Regions from separate parts of the Homo sapiens genome. Here region 1 is linked to region 2. Evidence: promoter capture Hi-C in 16 types of primary human blood cells and fetal thymus (Javierre and others, 2016). All regions are on one chromosome and are shown on one strand. The core of a region is centred on a gene start or on the middle of the fragment in contact, and the rest is flanking DNA. Distances in the headings are between cores, read along the strand shown.

Region 1 (2,700 bases), core at 2-2,501, about 21 Mb after region 2:
AGTAATGTATATGGTCAAATGATCTCAACAAGGCTACCAAGACCACTCAATGGGGAAACGATGATCTTTTCAGCAAATGATGCTGGGAAAATGAAATATTCACATGCTAAGGAATGAAGGTGAACCCTTACCTAACACCAAAAACACAAATGAACTCAAAATGGACTAAAAACCTAAACATAAGACCCAAAACTATAAAACACTTAAAAGAAAATATAGGGTGAAAGTTTTATGACATTGAATTTGGCCATAATTTCTTGGATTTGACACCAAATACACATGTGACAAAAGAAAAATAGACCAATTAGACTTCATGAAAATTAAAACTTTAGTATATCAAACAATAACAAAGTGAAAGAGGAACCTATTTAATGAGAACAAAATACAGGTTGAATATCCCTGAGCCAAAAATCTAAAATCCAAAATGCTCCAAAATCCAAATTTTTTTTTTCTTTTTTTTTTTTTGGAGACGGAGTCTCCCCCTGTCGCCCAGGCTGGAGTGCAATGGCGTGATCTCGACTCACTGCAACCTCTGCCTCCCAGGTTCAAACGATTCTCCTGCCTCAGCCTCCCAAGTACTGGGATTACAGGCGCTCGCCACCATGCCCGGCTAATTTTTGTATTTTTAGTAGAGACAGGGTTTCACCATGTTGGCCAGGCTGGTCTCGAACTCCTGATCGCGTGATCCACCCACCTTGGCCTCCCAAAGTGCTGGGATTACAGGCGTGAACCACTGCGCCCGGCCCGCCCGACTAATTTTTGTATTTTTAGTAGAGATGGGGTTCCGCCATGTTGGCCAGCCTGGTCTCGAACTTCTGACCTCAGGTGATCCGCCCGCCTCGGCCTTCTAAAGTGCTGGGATTACAGGCGTGAGCCACCGCGCCCAACCCCCTGAAATAATATTTGTTTGCCTCTAGGGGCACCCTGAGCTTCGTGGAGTCTGAAATAATGTCTCTAAACACTTAAGTGATCAGTTACGGAAAACACTTCCCAGAAATCTGGGAAAAGCCCCTTTAAGAAGGAGTAAATACCTCCTTCTCCCCTAGAGGCCGAAGTCGCCATTTCCCTGCACGGGGCACAGCACCTCAGAATACAAGTTCGCAGAGGTCAAAGCAGTGGACACACTCCGAAGAGCTCCGTGGAGTTTTGGAAACTACATTATCCAGAGTGCAGAGCGCAAAACGGCGGCGGAGTTGAGCCAATGACAGCCCAGGATAGCAACACTTCCGCGCACGCGCAGCGCGACGGGCCGGAACTTCCGGCGTCCTCCTCGTGGCGGTCATTTTGGCCTCTGTCCTGTTTGTCCAGCCCGCCAGTTTCTGCAGTGGAGGTCGCGACTGAGGGACGGGACAGAGAAGTCGCGAAAGTGGGCCAGAGGTTCTGCGACACCACCTCGGGTGAGCTGCGCCAGGCCCGGGATAGGGACTGTTGTGTTCGAATGCCCGCCCCGGTCGGCCGCCGCTCCCCGCCTAGTCCACGGAGCTCAATGGCGGCAGTCGCGCTGAGGGACTCGGCTCAGGTGAGTTGTGCGTCCTCCGGGTCTCGCCTACCTCCCCCAGCAGAAGCCTTAAGGCCCAGTGAGGGATGCCTGCTCACAGCCCTGCAGCCCAGGCCCCAGTACCCTGGACAAGAAGGCGCTTGTGGATTGGACCCGTTTGTGACGCCCAGTGTGTACGGAAATGTGACGGGCAGTTGACTGGCGCGTGCAGAACTTGGAGCTGCGACTAAGCTGGGGGGGATTCAGGAGCCTGGGGTCCGTCTCGGGTCTGCAGGAACATAGAGTGAGGCAGAGTTGCACCTGACGAATTTGACGATTCTGAGGACACTGGCAGCCTTCGAGATTTGTGAACAGATAGGGACACTGGGCTAGGATTTCCTAAAGCTATCCAAAAGTTGCTCAGGGGAAGAACAGGCTGAAGAGAGGTAATAGTAGTTAGGCATAGGAAGACTGAGTTCTTGTCCAAGCTCACGCAGCTGGTAAAGTCAGCACTGAGAACTGAGGTGCGGAGATAGTGCAGCCAGCCCAGGCCACCTGGCTCCAAAACTGGACCAGGGTCATTGGGCGACCTGAGCCTCGCCACTCGTCTAGCCTTGGGCCCTGAGACTTTGAGCAAATACAAAGCCCAGAGTCTTAAGTCCAGGTTAGATTATATGAAGCTGTTGGCAGCCGGGGGAAAGGAGATGTAGAAGGTTGTCCAAGGCAAAGTTACCAGTATATGCTAAGTTTGGAGAGGAGGCTAAGATAGTTCAGGAACCTACAATTATTTTCTTTTCATGAGAACAGGGAGCAGTGTAGTAGAAGTCAGACCCGGAATGGTTCCCTGAGAAGTTGAGTTGTCTATTCGTTACTTAATAGTAACAGTGGGAGGTTTGGAGTGGAAGAGGGAGGTGATCTGGTTCTGGTCTTATTAGGCTCCCTGTGGCTGCAGCATGGGAAGCCAACTGAAGGATGAGGTGGGGAGACCTGGGAGGAGACTACTGGGATAGGCCAGGTGAATGTGATAGAATGTGATAGGCCAAAATGGTGGCTGTGAAGATGCGAGAAGCAGTTGGATTCTGGATTCATTTTTTAAGTAGGGCTGCCTGAATTTTTAGTTTTGAGAAAGAGAGTGGAGTCAGGGATGACTGAAAGGTTTTATTTTGGCAGTTAGAAGTGTGGAAGCTCCATCAACTAAGATGGGGAAGTACATAGTAGGAGTA
Region 2 (2,986 bases), core at 373-2,872:
CAAAAATAGAGGCTGAAACAACACAGATGGAAGAGAAAAAATAAATAGAACAAAAATTTGCAGACCAAAATAAATTCTTGAGTCTTTAGTTTGAAGTACAGTGCTGTAAGAATTAAAGAAGAATCATACCTGGAAACATCCTGAAAAATATTCTTAAGTTTGTCTTTGAATACAGACAAAAGGACATAAATATCTTTTAGTAAGAAGTTGCAGAGGCCGGGCGCGGTGGCTCACGCCTGTAATCCCAACACTTTGGGAGGCAGATGCGGGCGGATCACGAGGTCAGGGGCTCAAGACCAGCCTGGCCAACATGGTGAAATCCCGTCTCTACTAAAAATACAAAAATTAGCTGGGTGTGGTGGCGGATGCCTGTAATCCCAGCTACTCGTGAGGCTGAGGCAGGAGAACTGCTTAAAACCCGAAGGCGGAGGTTGCAGTGAGCCGAGATCGCGCCACCGCACTCCAGCCACGGTGAAAGAGAGAAACTTCGTCTCAAAAAAAAAAAAAAAAAAAGGAAGTTGCAGAACAATGTGTATTGTGGCCAAATCTCAGAAAAAAAAAATCAAACACATAGGTACATAAGCATACTACATATGTGGTGTTTTTCTGAGGCTGTAATGATAAATGCGGGGTAGCAATGTGATTTTCGCTTGTGTTGTGTGTGTAAATCTACAGCTAACTCCTCAAGTAGTCAGGAAAGGATGAGAGATGGATGAATGACAGATCTCTGGAGTGGGGCGTCCTGAGCCTTAGATGTGTGCACAGGAGCGGGGTGAGGTGAATGTGCGTGTGTCTGTGTGTGAGAGACCAGAGTTGACTGAGAGGAGTGGAAGCTCTCTGCCTGATCGTGTGAGCCTGAGGATAACGTGAATGTTTTTTTGTTTTTTTTTTTTTGAGACAGTTTCGTTTCACTCTTGTTGCCCAGGTTGGAGTGCAATGGCGCGATCTCGGCTCACAGCAACCTCCGCCTCCCGGGTTCAAGCGATTCTCCTGCCTCAGCCTCCCAAGGAGCTGGAATTACAGACATGCACCACCATACCCGGCTAATTTTGTATTTTTAGTAGAGGTGGGGTTTCTCCACGTTGGCCAGGCTGGTATCGAACTCCCGACATCAGGGCATCCACCCGCTTCGGGCTCCCAAAATGCTGGGATTACAGGGGTGAGCCACCGCTCCCGGCCTGTAAATGTGCTTTTTCTTTCACGTAAATAAATGAGATTTACACAAATAGCCATTCACAATCATGGTCACAGTCACCTACAAACCCCATTTACACAAATGATCAGGCACACAATCACACTGTCACTAAAGCACACCCACGCACCAGGTCGCTGTCCCAACAGTAACACACAGCCCAAAGAGAAACCCTACTTCCTCACGCATTCAAAACACACCCACCTAAGGGCTGATCCCGCACTCAGAGGCCTAAAACTATAGACATTCCCTTCCGCGGCACTGGTGAGCCAGGATTTCTTACCTTCAGCATTCTCAGGGAAGGCTCTGGTCCAAGCTCTGATTCGGATTCCAAGCGAAGCCACACGCCCAGCTCTTCCTTCTCCACCGGCCCGGGACATCCTTACCTGCCTCTACCCGGAGACCATTCCTGCGAGGCTCCTACCGGAAGTAGCTGTGGACAGCAGTGTCCTCTGGGAAATGCAGTCCGAGGGGAGAGCGCCTGGGGTGGAGCGGGTGTGTTCCGCCGGGCTCCGGGATGCACTTGCGCAGTTTCACCCGAGGCTGGAGTGACGCCAACCTGTTAATGTTCGTTTTCGGATTCTGGACTTCGGGTTCCGCTGAGGACGGATTTCGGAATAGGCACAGTGGCTGCCCCGAACCCCTCAAGGCGGCCTCCGCGGGCTGTGGCTGAAGATAATTTTCGGCGGGCGCGGACTAACCCGGCTTCCCTTTGTGGAGTTGTGGTGAGAAAGGTGTTTTGTTGTGCGCGTGTCCGAAGGTGACTCCGGAGGAGAAGGTGGATATGAACTGACGGTGAGGGTGTAGCGCGTGAGATTTGTATGTGAAACGATTTAAAAAAAAATTTTTTTTTTGGCCGGGCGCGGTGGCTCACGCCAAGGCGGGCGGATCACCGAGACCAGCCTGACCAACATGGAGAAACCCCGTCTCTACTAAAAATACAAAATTAGCCGGGCGTGATGGCGCATGCCTGTAATCCCAGCTACTCGGGAGGCTGAGGCAGGAGAATCGCTTGAACCCGGGAGGCAGAGGTTGCGGTGAGCCGAGGTCGCGCCATTGCACTCCAGCCTGGGCGACAGAGCAACTCCTTCTCAAACAAACAAACAAAACTGTATGTCATATATTTGACTCCATTTATTTATTTATTTAGAGACAGAGTCTTCTTGCCCTGTTGCCCGGGCAAGAAAAAACAAACAACAACAACAACAAAAAACTGTACGTCATATATTTCACTCAACTTTTTTTTTTTCTTTTTTTTTTTTTGAGACGGAGTCTCGCTGTCGCCCAGGCTGGAGTGCAGTGGCGCAATCTCGGCTCACTGCAAGCTCCGCCTCCCGGGTTCACGCCATTCTCCTGCCTCAGCCTCCCGAGTAGCTGGGACTACAGGCGCCCGCCACCTCGCCCGGCTAATTTTTTGTATTTTTAGTAGAGACGGGGTTTCATCGTGTTAGCCAGGATGGTCTCGATCTCCTGACCTCGTGATTCGCCCGCCTCGGCCTCCCAAAGTGCTGGATTACAGGCGTGAGCCACCGCGCCCGGCCTCTTTTTGAGACAGGGTCTTCATGCCCTGTTGCCCAGGCTGACTGCGGTGGCGCGATCCTAGCTCACTGCAGTCTCCACCTCCTCAGCTCCTCCCGCATCCACCTCCCAAAGTGCTGGGATAGCAGGCGTGAGCCACCGGGTCAGGCCAAAACGATTTATTTTATTTTTATTTTTTTGGTAAAGACAGGGTCTCGCTATGTTGCCCAGGCTGGTGGTCTCGAACTCCTGGGCTCAAGCGATCCTCCCGTCTCA

The links. The method cuts DNA at HindIII sites, captures the fragments that hold promoters and counts their contacts. A CHiCAGO score of 5 or more calls a contact.
Region 1: a contact is called between the fragment with the promoter of ZNF551 here and the fragment with the promoter of ZNF461 in region 2, in 1 of 17 cell types (total CD4 T cells). The highest score is 5.8, in total CD4 T cells.

What each region holds. Positions count from the first base shown.
Region 1 is chr19:57,680,726-57,683,425 of GRCh38, forward strand. It overlaps ZNF551 (zinc finger protein 551), which reads left to right and starts at 1,252. Exons shown (of 3, transcript NM_138347.5): 1 at 1,252-1,519. The coding sequence starts at 1,439. RefSeq lists an enhancer at 944-1,567 and a silencer at 1,623-1,692. The HindIII fragment of the contact is 7,295 bases long and covers 1-2,700 here.
Region 2 is chr19:36,665,215-36,668,200 of GRCh38, forward strand. ZNF461 (zinc finger protein 461) reads right to left here and starts at 1,623. Exons shown (of 6, transcript NM_153257.5): 1 at 1,476-1,623. It also overlaps a transcript of ZNF567 not described here. RefSeq lists an enhancer at 1,800-1,929. The HindIII fragment of the contact is 6,595 bases long and covers 1-2,986 here.